Regions from separate parts of the Homo sapiens genome. Here all the other regions are linked to region 1. The links are contacts of gene promoters, found by promoter capture Hi-C in blood cells and fetal thymus (Javierre and others, 2016). All regions are on one chromosome and are shown on one strand. Each heading gives the region's core, a stretch centred on a gene start or on the middle of the fragment in contact. The rest is flanking DNA. Distances are from core to core; before and after follow the strand shown.

Region 1 (2,873 bases), core at 160-2,659:
GAGGCAAATCCTAGAGTACAATTTCCTAGCAGGCATTTGGATATTACCTATCTTTATTTCTCAGGCTCCACAAATTGAGTACCCTTTCAGGGTGCTATCATTAGCTCTAGCCTACCTATGAAGAAACAAAAGTCCTCCATGTTAGGACATTTGAGGACATGCCCTTAGTACCTAACAGTGTCTGGCACATTTTAAATGGGAAGGTGGAAGGGCCCCCCCATTTTTTTTTTTTTTTAAGATGGAATTTTGCTCTTTTGCCCAAGCTGGAGTGAAGTGGCTTGATCTCAGCTCATTGCAACCTCTGCCCCCTGGGTTCAAGCAATTCTCCTGCCTCAGCCTCCCAAGTAGCTGGGATTACAGGTGCCCACCACCACGCCTGGCTAATTTTTGTAGTTTTAGTAGAGACGGGGGTTTCACCATGTTGGCTAGGCTGGTCTCGAACTCCTGACCTCGTGATCCACTCACCTCGGCCTCCCAAAGTGCTGGGATTACAGGCGTGAGCCACCGCGCCCGGCAGGGACTGTCTTACTCAGGATCTGCAAAATCTTATAACTGTGTGAAATTTTTTTTCTGGGAAAAAAGCACTCATTTGTTTGGTCTGAGGGGAAAAAATGGGGCTAGCCCAAGAGTCGCCCACTTAGTTCTACCCAGGGCGAAGCAATGTGCCTTAACGGGGGGCACGTGCACCCCGGAAAACTCAAGAGAAAATGAGCCGGGCGTGGTGGGCTCCTGTGGTCCCAGCTACTCCAGAGGCGGAGGTTACAGCGAGCCGAGATCGCGCTACCGCACTCCAGCCTGGGCGACAGAGCAAGACCCTGCCTCAAAAAAATAGAAATAAAAAATAAAACTCAGAGGGCACGTCTCCTAGGACACGGGGACAGGCTAGGTGGGGGCACAGGGCGTGAGAATTGGCGAGCATGGCCGGGGTATGTCAGGCCGGGGCTGCCATCTTTTTTGTTTTTTGAAACAGGATCTCGCTCTGTCGCCCAGGTTGGGGTGCAGGGGCGCATTGCTGCCTGGAACTCCTTGACTCAAGCGATCTTCCCGCCTCACCTTCCCGAGGAGCTAGGACCACTGGGCGCGAGACACCACGCCCGGTTAATTTTTTTTTTTTTCTTCTGTAGCGACTGGGGGTGGGGGGTGGTGTCTCGCTTTGTTGCCCAGGCTGATCTCGAACTCCTGGACTCAAGCGATCCGCCCGCCAAGGCCTCCCAAAGCTCCAGGGTTACAGGCATGAGCCACCGCGCCCAGCCCGGGGCCGGTCATCTTTTCCGGGGCCTTATGCAGAGTCCGAGGCCCCCGAGCCCGCTGCCGAAGACGGAGCTCCAAGACCGAACCTCGTAAAGGGCCCAGCCGCACCTCTACCCGGAAGCGGCTCGAACTCGGGGCCGGAAGTGACTCCATTTCTGTGCGCCGAGCTCCGCCCCACGAGCACCTGTTTCCGAGCGGAGAGCGCGGGCCGTTTTCTTTCCTGGTGTCCCGTCGCGGCTTGGGACCCGGCAAGATGGGCAAGAAGGGCAAGAAGGAGAAGAAGGGCCGCGGCGCGGAGAAGACGGCCGCCAAGATGGAGAAGAAGGTGTCTAAGCGCTCGCGGAAGGAGGAGGTGAGCGGGTCAGACCGGGCTTAGCGGCCCGACGTCGCGGCCGTGCAGCCTCGGCCGACTCCCTGCGCCCCCCGGGGTTACGGGTCGGCCGTGGGAGCCGCGCCGGCCCTGCGGGAGAGCTGGAGGCCGTAGGAACTGCCCCGGCGCCGCGTCCGGGCAGCCCAGACGGGGCCCGCCCCCTCCTGAGTCTCCACGTGTGTCTGTCCGCTTCTCGGAGCTGCCCCCTTTAACGTGCTTGCTTTTCTTAGTGTGGTGTCACGGGCGTTTTTCTGCGTTTCCTCCCCCTCCTCCCTTCTCCCTCCACCCTCCCTCTGAAGGGAGGCTGGGTGGTGAGAAGAGGGAGGGGTTTGGCACAGGAAGACCTGAGGTTGAGCCGGGGGCTGCCTCTGCATGATGTGTGGTCTGGGAGTAAGACTCTTAACTTTTCTGAACCTTACTTTTCTTTCAAAAGAGGGCAAATAATCATCACAGCAGCCCTGAGCAGTGAGCAGCAGATGGTTAAGTGAAGAAGGCACTGGAGCCACGGGGTATCCCGTAGCAGCTGATGGCGGCCATCACGGTTGTCTCCTTCCCTCTGGTCCTCAGCCCGGGGTCTGCAGGAGGATCCGTCCTGACCTTGGGGTTGAGTGTTCTGCGGCTGCTGCTCATGGATTCCCTAACCGGGGCCAGTTTTATGGCCTGCCGTGCGCCAGGCACAGCTCCCTGGGCTTTACTCCTCACGAGCAGGTCAGTTCCGTAGCACTGGTATTCCCATTTGACAGGAAGACCAACAGGTGAACCATGAAGTGGTATGGAACTGGGATGTGACCAGATGTCCTGAATCAGGAGCTCTTGACCACAGTCCTTTGTCCCTTTTCTTCCTAAGTCATTGATCTCTCCATGTCCTCATCTCTTAAATAATGGAGTTGGACTTTTCCCTCACACTCCTCTTAGGCTCTTTCTTTTTTTTTTTTTTTTTTTTGACAGAGTCTTGCTCTGTCACCTAGGCTGGGCTGCAGTGGCATGACCTGCTGGCTAGGGTTGTGGCACAGGAAGTCAGTTCATCTGTGTGGTATCTTCAGAATGGTGCTTGGCAGAAAGTAAGCACTCAGTAACCAGCTGTTAGCTGCTTTCTGCTTTTTTTTTTTTTTTTTTTTTTTTTTTTTGAAGGAGTTTCACTCTTGTTGCCCAGGGTGGAGTGCAATGGTGCGATCTCAGCTCACTGCACCTCCGCCTCCCAGGTTCAAGTGGTTCTCCTGCCTCAGCCTCCCAAGTAGCTGAGATTACAGGC
Region 2 (2,873 bases), core at 160-2,659, 450 kb after region 1:
AATGTGGTTTTATCAATTTCATGAGCCATGTATGAGGGTTCCAGCTGTGACATCCTCGACAAACTAGGTATTGTCAGTCCTTTTAATTTTAGCCATTCTTGGGTGGGTGAGGGCAGTGAAGAGCTATTCTTGACATGGAATGACAAGACCTAGTGTGCCCGAGGTGAAGGCCTGAGCGTCCAGGGGAGCATGAGCCTGTCTTCTATGCCCTGCTGTGCTATGGCAGTGTTTCAGTGTGCTCTGGAGGAAAACAGCAGAGAAGCCGAGTGCTCCAAAGTGGGCAGAAATGAGACAGGCATAATGTGCTAGGCTAATGGTGACTCTTGGAATTTTGTCATTAGCTACAAAGAGGGCAGTGACATGATTTACACACACACACGGGGTGGGGTATCTGAAATATTAGGCAGCTAGTATGGCAGGGGCACCGTCTAATCAGCATGGATGCTGGCCAGGAGAGGACATGTGTATGTGCTGGCTGGAAACAGTCCTGCTCATAGGTCACGATCTTAATGATTAAATAACAAGGCAAGAAATCCGAGAGGGCAGTGCCTGGGAGCACCCTGTTTGCTCTGTGGCCAGAACGCAGCACACTGAAGTATTGCCCATCAGGGTAAGAGGTGCTCGTGATGGTTTGGGCAAATACAAATATTAATCCAGAGTATTTGAGTCTACATGAAAATACTGAAAAGTGAGGGAAGACCCAACCGTTTCCAAGAAATACAAATTGGAACTGGCGATAACTTAAAGAACATAATCAGAGAGGCAGAGGGCATTGGGTTTTACTAAAATATGAAGACATACGTCCTGTCTCCACGTCAGCAACTGCCCAAAGTACACGCGTTCCAGCGAAAAGAGCGGGTGGGGTGGGGAGGCTCAGGGCCAGCCAGAGCTTCGGTGCTTGCACGCCCAGGCCTCCGGGTGACGACTGCTTCCAATTCCGCGCCCTTTAAACCCCATGTTGTTAAAAAAAAAAAAAAAGAAAGAAAACCTATTTCTCTAAAAGTCACGATTCGAGCCCCACCTGAGGACGCAGCGATCCAGCGCCAACTCATTATCTGAGATAAAGGAGTGATTTTACCAGAAGCGCCTATGCAAGACGCAGGGCCCCGCGCGGGCTGCTCCCACCTCTTTCTCTCCTTGCAGGCTACCGAGACCCTGGCTGGGGCGGCCGGCGGCCCCTCCGGCCCATCCGTCGGAAATGATGAGTGGCTCCAGTGGCCGGGGTCCGCAGGACCTACCCCAGCGGGCATGGCGGGAGCCCCGCAGCCCCACACAGCCGCGCTCTGAGCCGCTGACCCCGCGTCTCTCGTGAGGGACCAATCAGCTGCCAGCTAAGGTCACATACCTAGAAGGCCAATTTTGATTGGCTGGGCGCGGGCTAGTCAGCGGGACGGGCGGGCGCGCGGGCGTTGTTGGGCTCCTCTGAGCGGTTGAGGTTGGGGCTGGGGTTGAGCTCGGGTTGGGTTCCTCCTGGGGCAGGAGGGAAAGGCGGGAGCCAGGGCGTCAGGGCCTGCGGACGATGTGTGTGTGAAAGGGCGCGTCAGCCATAAGAAGCCATATGCGTGCGAGCCGGTCCCCACCGTCCCCGCGGCGTTGTCACCATCATCATGAGGCCACTGGAGCAGCCTCAGGCGCTGCTGCCGGGGGGCCGGGCGCGGGGTGCGTCGGGCTCTGCAGGTTGGCACTCACACCCAGCGCGCAGGATGGCAGGCAAGTGAGTCCTGAATCCTGCCCGCGGCTACCCGACACCTCGCCTGTGAGTTCCCGGCCCGGCATTGCTCCATGACCTATGCACAGGCAGAACTCTTGACCGCCACCCACAGGAACCTCACTTACATTGGCTTAACAAAAACGCAACTGATGGTTCCACATAACTGAAAATGTCAGAAGTAGGCCTTCAGGCATGGATGTATCCAGGTACACATTGACCATGGTCCTGGAAGGTTTCTCTCCATCTCTCAGCTTCCTTCCTTTTTGCTGGCTTCCCTTGTGGAGGCAAGATGATCACCAGGACCTCCTGAGGTTTACATGTTATCAGATTATCAACCTCAACAAAAAGGAGATTCTTTTTTTTCCCAGCTTTCCAGGCTGGGCAGTGGTGAGTTTGGCCCACCTGAACTACAAGGACTGAGATGGCTGTGGCCCCCCCCCTCCCCACCAGGAATATAGCAGTGCTGTCATTACCAGAAGGGGCCTCGGATGCTGTGGAGGGCAGTGCCCCATCCTCTGTTTTCAAGCATTATCTGGGAGAGTTGATGCGTGAACCTATTACTCTCACAAAAATAGCAATAATAATAATGGTTATTATGACAATGAAACCCAAAAACACTTATATCGCTCTTACGGTTTCCACATACAAAGCACTTTGACCCACTACTGTCAGGGAAGCAGGGCTTTGCACCCACTGGAGACGCTTCATCCAGCCAACATTCAAGCAGTTTGTTGGGGAGTGGAACAGGGAAGAGCCACACAGGCTGTGTAACCCCAAGTGCTTTGTCATCCCAGAGACAAAGCACCCGGGTTTTTATAGTGGAAGGAGGTTCATTAATGGACAGTTTGACGATGTTTTTTCTTCAGTATTTCAGTAAGTTGAGGGTGTCTGACAGATCATCCTAGGTGATGTGATTGGCAGCTACATGTCTTGGAAAGTTCTCAGCAGGTTGGAATGCTCCTGTCTTTTCTGATGCTCCAAGCACAAGTGTAGCTGGAGTCAGCTTGAAGCTGGTTGGCTTGGGAATGCAGGATTCCATGACAGCCAGCCCCCAGGAGCCCCTAGACATTCACGCATGAGCTAGCACACGCCTGCTTCTGATGTCACCCTCTCACTCTTCTTGGGCTCAGAGGATCCCCCCATCCCCACCACCCGTGGGCTT
Region 3 (2,873 bases), core at 199-2,698, 380 kb after region 1:
GCCTCCCAAAGTGCTGGGATTACAGGCGTGAGCCACCGCGCCCGGCCTAATTTTTTAAATTATTTGTAGAGATGGGGGCGTCTCACTATGTGGGTAGGCTGGTCTCCGACTCCTGGGCTTAACCGATCTACCCGCCTCGGCCTCCCAAAGTGCTAGAATTACAGGCGTGAGCCACTGCGCCTGGCCTGTGTGGTTTGTTTGTTTGTTTGTTTGAAGAGACAGGGTTTCACCATGTTGGTCAGGCGGGTCTCAAACTCCTGACCTCAGGTGATGCACCCTTCTCCGCCTCCCAAAGTGCTGGGATTACAGACGTGAGCCACCGCGCCCAGCCATTTGTGGCTATTTTTGTTTTTTGTTTGTTTTGGAGACAGGGTCACGCTGTGTTGCCCAGGCTGAAGTGCAGTGGCACCATCACGGGTCACTACAGCCTCGGCCTCCTGGGATCAAGCGATCCTCCCGTCTCAGCTTCTCTTTCTAAAATTTTGTTTTGTAGACAGGGTCTCGCTGTATTGCCCAGGCCGGTCTCGAGCTCCTGGCCTCGATTGATACTCCCGCCTGGGCCTCCAAGAGATGGGGTCCGAGGCGAGCCCACGGCGACGTGCGCGGCTGCTCAGGTGAGAGGACGCCTTCGCGGTCACCACCCGCGGACCTGGGAGACGACCCCGCTCAGCGGCCTCGGCGGAGCCCAGCTGGAGCAGGCGTGCGCGGCTCCCAGCAGCTGCAGGAACAGGCGCCCTTTGGGCGGCGCCGCATGGCAGGGCCTCCCTTTCCAGACCGGGCGCGCATCCCCGGATCTCTTGGGCCGCGCCGGCCGCCGCCCCTCCAAGCCCTCCCCGGGGCTTCCGCAGGGAGCTCGGGATCCCCGAAGGTCCCTGCAGAGCTCCGCAGCTCGGGCCTTTTGGTTACCATAAGGCGGAGACGATGGAACGCGCGTTGTTTCAATGGACAAAAGGGCTTCTAGGCGCCCTTTGGGGTTCTGGCTGCTGCCTCTGTATTTGGAGGCTGTAAGGCGCATCTTTCTACTCACCGGCCGGCGCGGCACAGTTTCGGGCGCCGGAAGCGGGACGCACGGGCGCGAGGGGCGACCCCTATCTCCACAAAAGCCGCGGCGCGAAGTGGTCGCCGAGCAGCCTCGTTAGCGCAGTAGGCAGCGCGTCAGTCTCATAATCTGAAGGTCGTGAGTTCGAGCCTCACACGGGGCAGTCTAACGTTTTGCACTCGGCATCACCACTTTCTTTTCTCATGCCCGTCACGGGCGGCGCCCTCACGCTGGAGGGGAGGGCAGCAGTGCGGGGTCTCTGAGGTCGCCGCCCCGCGGGGAGGGGGTGGCGCGGCCGGGGCGGAGCTCTACGTAGGGGCGGGGCTAGGCTCTCCAGGGGGCGTGGCGAGCTCTGCGGCGGGGGCGTGGCTCGGCGCTGGCGGGGCGGGGCCGCGCTGGAGCGTGCGCACAGGCGGCAGCAGTGGCCGTCACTGGGCGGCATGGCGGTGTGTGCTCGCCTTTGCGGCGTGGGCCCGTCGCGCGGATGTCGGCGCCGCCAGCAGCGCCGGGGCCCGGCCGAGACGGCGGCGGCCGACAGCGAGCCGGACACAGACCCCGAGGAGGAGCGCATCGAGGCTAGCGCCGGGGTCGGGGGCGGCTTGTGCGCGGGCCCCTCGCCGCCGCCCCCGCGCTGCTCGCTGCTGGAGCTGCCGCCCGAGCTGCTGGTGGAGATCTTCGCGTCGCTGCCGGGCACGGACCTACCCAGCTTGGCCCAGGTCTGCACGAAGTTCCGGCGCATCCTCCACACCGACACCATCTGGAGGAGGCGTTGCCGTGAGGGTGAGCGCGCGGGGGTGGCGGGGCCGGGAGGGGCGGGGGGTCCCTGCCAGGTGGAGGCCTCGGAGCTGGGAGTGGCGGGGGCGGTGGCCCCGGCCGGGGGCCACCAGTTGGGCGCGGGGCCCGGCGATGTGGTGTTTTGGGTGTGGGTGGGGAGCGGCCGCGGTGACACCACGTTGAGGGGGCCAGGGAGGTATTTGAGGCGGTTAGGGAGGGTCCGAGGGGTCCAAGAGAGGCAGACGGGGTAGGGAGGGGTTGAGGGCGTCAGGGAGGCATCGAAGAGGCCCTGACGCGGGGCACGGGACACCACGGGGCCGAGGCCGTGCCGGGAGCTGGGGCTGGGATCCCTCGAGGTCTGCGCGGGGCCTAAGCTGACGCCTGGGGGCCGCCTCCTCTGCCCCTGTCTTGAAGGCGAGCCGAGGGTGCCCCGCTGGCCCTGACCAGAGACGAGGTGAACTTGAAGAAATGGGAGCAGGCCGGGCGCGGTTTCACGCCTGTAATCTCAGCACTTAGGGAGGCCGAGGCGGGCGGGTCACCTGAGGTCAGGAGTTCGAGACCAGCCTGGTGAAGATGGTAAAACCCCGTCTCTACTTACAAAAATACAAAAATTAGCCGGGCGTGGTAGCGGGCGCCTGTAATCCCAGCTACTCGGGAGGGTGAGGCAGAAGAATGGCTTGAACCCGGGAGGCGGAGGTTGCACTGAGCCAACATCTGGGCCATTGCACTCCACCCTAGGCGACAGAGTGCGACTTGGTCTCAAACAACAGCAACAAAAAAAATTACGGGAGTAGGGGAAGCCCAGTGTCGGGGGCTCCTGATGGTGGGGGCGTAGAGAGACGGATGGATCACAGCGGTGCGGGCTGGACTTTTGCCTTCAGCAATATTGGATGTAACAGATCACAGGAGGAGATGTTTATTTAATCTGGAGTTCAAGGCTCTCTCTGTTTAAAGGTTGACAGCTCTTTGATGTTCAAGCAGCTCATATTTAGGTAAAAAGGACAGGTTAGAAAACATCCAAGCGATGCAGAACAGCAAAAGGAACAAAGTAAATACCATC
Region 4 (2,873 bases), core at 184-2,683, 340 kb after region 1:
AAAGTGCATAACTGTTGGAAAAGCAGATTGTCTGTTTCAACATAAGATGATCTGTCCATACCATGTTTAATCGCTGGGGTGGTGGATTTCACATCTTCCCTGGGTTAGGGCGCAGTAGGAAAGATACAGCCTAGAGGCAGGTGTGAGAGCTGTGCAGAGGAGACGTTTTCTATGACACGCTTTACCTTGAAAGAGACACGCTGTCAGCAGCGCGGGGGACAGCCATCTTCACGGCAGGGGTTTGTGTCTGTTGGTGGTGGTGTTCTTGGAGTTCTGTGTGGGGAGCAGCTTAGGAACCTCTCCCCAAGATTTTTGGTGTTGAGAGATTTTAATATTTAAGGCAGAGAAGGAGCTCAAACATTTTCTTTTCTTTTCTTTTCTTTCTTTCTTTCTTTTTTTTTTTTGATAGAGTTTCGCTCTTGTTGCCCAGGCTGGAGTGCAATGGCGCGATCTCGGCTCACTGCAGCCTCCCCCTCCCGGGTTCAAGCAGTTCTCCCACCTCAGTCTCCCAAGTAGCTAGGATTACAGGCGCCTGCCACCATGCCCGGCCAATTTTGTATTTTTAGTAGAGACGGGGTTTCTCCACGTTGGTCAGGCTGGTCTTGAACTCCTGACCTCAGGTGATCCGCCCACCTCAGCCTCCCAAAGTGCTGGGATTACAGGTGTGAGCCACTGCGCCCGGCCTCAAGCATTTTCATTTTAGGTGTGGAAGATTCTGGGTGGCAAGGTGCACGCCTTGCAGCCGTTAGTTCCAGGGACGCTGCTGCTTGCCTTGATGAATTCTGGTAGGCACTGGGGTTCTGGTGAAGAAGAGGTGGCCCTTTCCTCGACTGGCCTGTGTATTATGAGGGCGTGATGAAACAGACCCAGGAGTGACGCTACGTGATGTGACGAGACTGGCCTCAGTTTCAGCAGGCAGGAGGGTGGACACCTCGGGGACTAGACTGCAGGCCCATGGATGTGGGTGTGGGTGTGGGTGAGGGAGCAGAGGTGGTTTGGGTGCCTGTGAGCTCTCTTTGCTCTAAATCAGTGTTAATACAGCGTTTTCTTTTGCATAATGTATTTGGTCATTTTATTTGCCGACTTGAAATCCCCCAGCTTCTTGTGGACTTGAGTGCAATTTGCATTTGGTGCTTGTCCCTTCCTGACCTGGCCTCCTCCCTGTCATTTCAGGCCATCCCCTCTGTCCATCTCAATCCTGTAGCTAACTTCTTATTTGCCTTTCAGAAGTCAACCCAAGCTCTTCTCCATGCAGAAACTCCCTCTAATGTGCAAAAAGTACGCTCTCCTTCCCCCTCAGTCAGCTTTGTTTAGCACCTCATGTGACGAGCATTGTGATAGCCAGGGGAGAGCTGAGCAAAAAGACACCGCCCCTTCCCCCCTGGAGCTTAGCGTGCATGTGGGGAGATGGACCTCCGTGGAGCCATGCAGTGACACCGCCCGCTGCTGCATGCTGGGAAGGAAAGCTGATGCTCACAAGGGCTGGGCACACCAGACGTTGCAGAATCTCCTCCAGAAAGCCCTTTTCACTGCTCTTCCCCAGCAGTGATCACTGCTGCCCTAGTGATCACTGCCCTGTCCTGTTGCTATCAATGGACTCACACTGTCCCCACAGCTCTGCAGTGTCCTGAGAGCAGGGCCTGGGCTCACTGTGTGCCCACAGCACCTGGGCGGGCGCACCACGGGCCCTTACCGGTGGTCGAAGGGCTGCTCTCTGGGAATGTGTCGCTCTTGCATCTGAGGCACATAGGCTCACTTAAGAAGAGGAGGTCCCCTGAGGAAGTTGAACAGGGCACACACAAGCAATTGTCAGGGATTTTCTAGAACTTACAGGAGGCAGCTGTAGACCCCACTCTGGAGTAATTTGGTGATATCTGAATAATTGCATAAAACAAGTTAGACTTTAGAGGGCCTGGAGCTATGTGACTCTTCTTTCTGTAACAAGTCAAGGGATGCTTAGGTGCTTCCCACAGCAGGTGCACGGCCCACTGGGCTCAGCTGCCGACTGAACGTGTGCCCCAGTCGTACCAGGACACGTGCTGGGAACCAAGTATGTGGTGTCTGTTTCTAAGGTTTGTTTGTTTGTTTGTTTTTAAGGTCTTGTGGTCTGATTCTTCAATAACATCAGTAACCAAATCTTCCTCTGAAGTGACGGAATTTATTTCAAAGGTAAGGTAATCAAGGGCTCTTATAAAAATTAAAAGAATCACATTCCCCAGTGGCTGATGATACCACGGAGTAATTTCAGAGGCCACTCCCTTCAGCTAGCGAGTGAGCGTGCGCAGGGCGGGGCCTCCTGCCCAGCCACAGTGGAGTCCCAGGCCCGCTGCTGACATGAGCGTTGCTGCGAGCACAGGTCCGTGACCCCGCGGATGCCTCCTTCACTTGTTGAGACTGAGATGAGGCTGAGAGATGCGCCGGGCATGAGCGACTGATGAGGACATTTGGTTTCTTTTGTTACTTTTCAGTCCCCCAGGTTTCCTTGGCAAAGGCTGGGGGAGAGAGGCATGCTCAGGTGGCTGAGTGGGTAGAGACTTCACCTAGTTCTACCTTTATCTGTTTTTATTTATTTATTTATTTTATTATTATTTTTTTAAGAGACTGGATCTTGCTCTCGCCCAGGCTGGGTTGTGGTGGTACCATCATCACAGCTCACTGCAGCCTTGACCTCCTGGTGCTCAAGTGGTCCTCCCACGTTTATCTTTACAAATATCTGGTTCAGCAGATACCATTGAACAGAAAGTTCCACTACTAAATAAATGCCTCTTTGCCTCCGTGTGCATGTGTACACACAGTTGTAACTGCACACGTGTTTAGGGCCCACTGGCCTGTGCTGTAGCGTGAACGACTGTCTCAGCCAAAGTGATGCCTCT
Region 5 (2,873 bases), core at 1-2,500, 310 kb after region 1:
ATTTTATTTTCTTGATAACATGTTATTAAGTTATCCAAAGAATTGACTTTCTGGAGGAGTTGCTGCATGGCTAGGACTTTTTTTTTTTTTTTTACTTTTTTAGAAATTTAAATAGAGACAGGGTCTCGCTGTTACCCAGGCCAGTAACAAACTCATAGTTTCAAGCAGTCCTCCTGCCTCAGCCTCCCAAAGTGCTGGGATTATAGCCATGAGCTGCTGCGCCCGGCCTTATTTTCTCGAGTTACATAAACTTCCCAATTATGTAGCCCTGTGACAAGTTGCTTTTCTTGGAAGGCATCTGTTGAGCCGCGTGGGATCTGTTAGTCCCTCTCCCTGCATGAACAGCCCAGGAGGGCTTCTTGCTGGGGGGCAGGGGCATTGACAGAGCTGGGATCAGAGGATCTCGCTATGGACTTGGGTGTGGCCCCTGTGGCTTGCTGTCTGTGGAATACAGCAGGTGCTGGTCCTGCCGGAGTGGCAGCAGTCTCCACCCTTTCCTCCCAACTCCAGCTTCCGCCTCCACTTTCATCCTGTCTGAGGTCGAGGCCACGCCTACCTGGCCAGCCCTCTGCAGAGCGAGTGCTGGGATCTGTGCTTGTGAGTGAACTTAGGGGATGTTTTGGTCAACTGCCACCTACCGTCCAGGTATGAGATGAAAGAACAAGTGGAGGCTGGAGAGGTCAGGCCATTTTCCAGGCTGCTTGTGCCATGTACTTTCCCATACTGTGAATGCAGCATTGCTTATCAGCTCTTTTGATGAACTTTAAAATCTTACGCCTCTCATATCCTCCGAAATTTTGAAATACATTGAGACTGTAAAGAAGTTACAGCATTGGCCATTTTTATTCTTCTAAATCCTATAAGTTATAAATGTGTTTTGGCTGTGAAATTTTAAAATACTGATGGGGAGGGAATGAAGGTTATTGCTACCCCCCTCCTCTCGCCCCTCTGGGCCCCTTCCGGCTTATTCCACATTCACACCATCACTGAACCCAGGAAGCAGGAGGGGTGGGACGAGCCTGGCTAGCCCGTGGCTTGTTTCTGCGCTTGTTGTGTGTTGGGAGCACTGGTGGTCAGGAGGGCCTCCCCCACCCACAGCTTGGGGGCGGCCGTCACCTGCAGGTACACTGTCTGTGCTTAGCAGGTCTCTGTCGATGGGGACTGAGGGTGTGCCCCGCTTTCCCTGTCACAGACACTCCTGCAGTGGGCACACCCCATCAGGTCATTTTCTCACGTGTGAGTACTTGGTATGGTGAATTCCTAGAAATGGAATTGGGATGTAATTTTAGGATATGCTTTTTCAAACTGTACCCCAAATAGACCGAGTTGTATTCTGTTCTTTGCTGTTGTTTTTAAAGCATTTTATGATTTAAGATTTATAGAAGGAGAATGTTAAGTCCTGCTGTGTAATTCGTTTTATAGGGAGCTATTTGATTTGAAGAAATATGAAAATAAAAGTTTGCCTCAAATAAAAATATATAATTCATGCCACCTTGGCTAACATAGTTCCTTTTTTTTTTCTTGGAGATAGAGCCTTACTCTGTTGCCCAGGCTGGAGTGTAGTGTCACCATCTTGGCTCACTGCAGCCCCTGCCTCCTGGGTTCAAGTGATCCTCCCACGTCAGCCTCCCGAGTAGCTGGGACTATAGGCACTTGCCATCACGCCTGGCTAATTTTTGTATTTTTAATAGAGATGGGGTTTCACCATGTTGGCCAGGCTGGTCTTGAACTCCTGGGCTCAAGAGATCCACCTGCGTCAGCCTCCTAAAGTGCTGGGATAACAGGCGTGAGCCACCGTGCCCGGCCTCTTTGGCTACCATAGTTTCTGTGCACCCGATGAACCCCAGCCACAAGACGTAAGCGCCCGTGTTTGACTCAAGTTATCTGAGCTCTTTTGCACTTTCAGTGGAGAGTAGTAGGTGAAATTTTCATCTTTCTTGGGGAAGGCTTATTATTATAATAATACATGTTTTGTAGAAAAATGGAAACCAAGGTAATTATGAAAGACTTAATTAACAAATAAAATTGTCCCCTATTAACTCCGTGGGAGAAAATAAGATGATTCTGTTTCTGTTCCCTCAGATCACTCCAAGAACTGAGGCCCCTGTCAGCAGTGTCAGTAATAGTTTGGAGAATGCCCTGCACACATCAGCACATTCCACGGAGGAGTCGCTGCCCAAGAGGCCCTTAGGAAAACACAGCAAAGGTGAGTGCACGCACGGGTTTCAGGAGGACGTCTGACGGACGGAGGATGGGCACACCCCAGATCCCCGTGAGGGCATTGTTAAATGCTTTCAGATCTTTCATAAATGCCAATCTTATGTGTATTTTTCTAAATTCTATAAGCAATACATGAATATGCTTTGGCTGTAAAAATCTCAATTATTGATGTTTTTTAAGGAGAAGTCCAGACGTGGTTTCTCACACCTGTAATCCCAGCACTTTGGGAGACTGAGGTGGGCGGATCACCTGAGGTTGGGAGTTTGAGACCAGCCTGACCAACATGAAGAAACCCCATCTCTACTAAAAATACAAAATTAGCTGGGCGTGGTGGCGGGCATCTGTAATCCCAGCTACTCGGGAGGCTGAGGCAGGAGAATCGCTTGAACCCAGGAGGCGGAGGTCGTGGTAAGCCAAGATCACGCCATTGCACTCCAGCCTGGGCAACAAGAGCAAAACTCCGTCTGAAAAAAAAAAAAAAATTAGCCAGGCCTGGTGGTGCACGCTTGTAATCCCAGCTACTTGAGAGGCTGAGGCAGGAGAATTGCTTGAACCCAGGAGGTGGAGGTTGCAGTGAGCCGAGATCGTGCCACTGCCCTCCAGTCTGGGTGACAGAGTGAGATTACATCTCAAAAAAAAAAAAAGGGTGGGAG

The links. The method cuts DNA at HindIII sites, captures the fragments that hold promoters and counts their contacts. A CHiCAGO score of 5 or more calls a contact.
Region 2: the fragment with the promoter of C16orf95 here is called in contact with the fragment with the promoter of KLHDC4 in region 1 in 3 of 17 cell types (naive CD8 T cells, naive B cells and total CD8 T cells); the score reaches 7.4 in naive CD8 T cells.
Region 3: the fragment with the promoter of FBXO31 here is called in contact with the fragment with the promoter of KLHDC4 in region 1 in 11 of 17 cell types (naive CD8 T cells, naive CD4 T cells, total CD8 T cells and 8 more); the score reaches 12.2 in naive CD8 T cells.
Region 4: a contact is called between a fragment that was not itself captured here and the fragment with the promoter of KLHDC4 in region 1, in 2 of 17 cell types (naive CD4 T cells and naive CD8 T cells). The highest score is 6.3, in naive CD4 T cells.
Region 5: a contact is called between a fragment that was not itself captured here and the fragment with the promoter of KLHDC4 in region 1, in 1 of 17 cell types (endothelial precursors). The highest score is 5.7, in endothelial precursors.

What each region holds. Positions count from the first base shown.
Region 1 is chr16:87,764,522-87,767,394 of GRCh38, reverse strand. KLHDC4 (kelch domain containing 4) reads left to right here and starts at 1,409. Exons shown (of 12, transcript NM_017566.4): 1 at 1,409-1,603. The coding sequence starts at 1,505. LOC105371399 (a long non-coding RNA gene) reads right to left here and starts at 1,354. Exons shown (of 3, transcript XR_933871.3): 1 at 1,054-1,354. It overlaps LOC102724467 (a long non-coding RNA gene), which reads left to right. Exons shown (of 4, transcript NR_120309.1): 4 at 971-1,064. RefSeq lists enhancers at 1,314-1,373, 1,454-1,513, 1,497-2,121. The HindIII fragment of the contact is 5,415 bases long and covers 1-2,873 here.
Region 2 is chr16:87,315,928-87,318,800 of GRCh38, reverse strand. It overlaps C16orf95 (chromosome 16 open reading frame 95), which reads left to right and starts at 1,409. Exons shown (of 7, transcript NM_001195124.3): 1 at 1,409-1,710. The coding sequence starts at 1,559. C16orf95-DT (C16orf95 divergent transcript) reads right to left here and starts at 1,292. Exons shown (of 2, transcript NR_135180.1): 1 at 1,079-1,292; 2 at 758-944. RefSeq lists an enhancer at 1,382-1,831. The HindIII fragment of the contact is 6,644 bases long and covers 1-2,873 here.
Region 3 is chr16:87,382,351-87,385,223 of GRCh38, reverse strand. It overlaps FBXO31 (F-box protein 31), which reads left to right and starts at 1,448. Exons shown (of 9, transcript NM_024735.5): 1 at 1,448-1,819. The coding sequence starts at 1,480. It overlaps TRM-CAT6-1 (tRNA-Met (anticodon CAT) 6-1), which reads left to right and starts at 1,130; the gene lies at 1,130-1,202. LOC124903747 (a long non-coding RNA gene) reads right to left here and starts at 1,291. Exons shown (of 2, transcript XR_007065168.1): 1 at 1,028-1,291. RefSeq lists enhancers at 340-991, 992-1,645 and silencers at 1,053-1,712, 1,853-2,092. The HindIII fragment of the contact is 7,278 bases long and covers 1-2,873 here.
Region 4 is chr16:87,423,106-87,425,978 of GRCh38, reverse strand. It overlaps ZCCHC14 (zinc finger CCHC-type containing 14), which reads left to right. Exons shown (of 13, transcript NM_015144.3): 4 at 2,098-2,169. Among named protein-coding and RNA genes, the nearest start is that of MAP1LC3B, 32 kb to the right of the region's middle. RefSeq lists enhancers at 259-768, 1,787-2,294, 2,295-2,804. The HindIII fragment of the contact is 7,231 bases long and covers 1-2,873 here.
Region 5 is chr16:87,459,341-87,462,213 of GRCh38, reverse strand. It overlaps ZCCHC14 (zinc finger CCHC-type containing 14), which reads left to right. Exons shown (of 13, transcript NM_015144.3): 2 at 2,083-2,206. Among named protein-coding and RNA genes, the nearest start is that of ZCCHC14, 32 kb to the left of the region's middle. The HindIII fragment of the contact is 6,784 bases long and covers 1-2,873 here.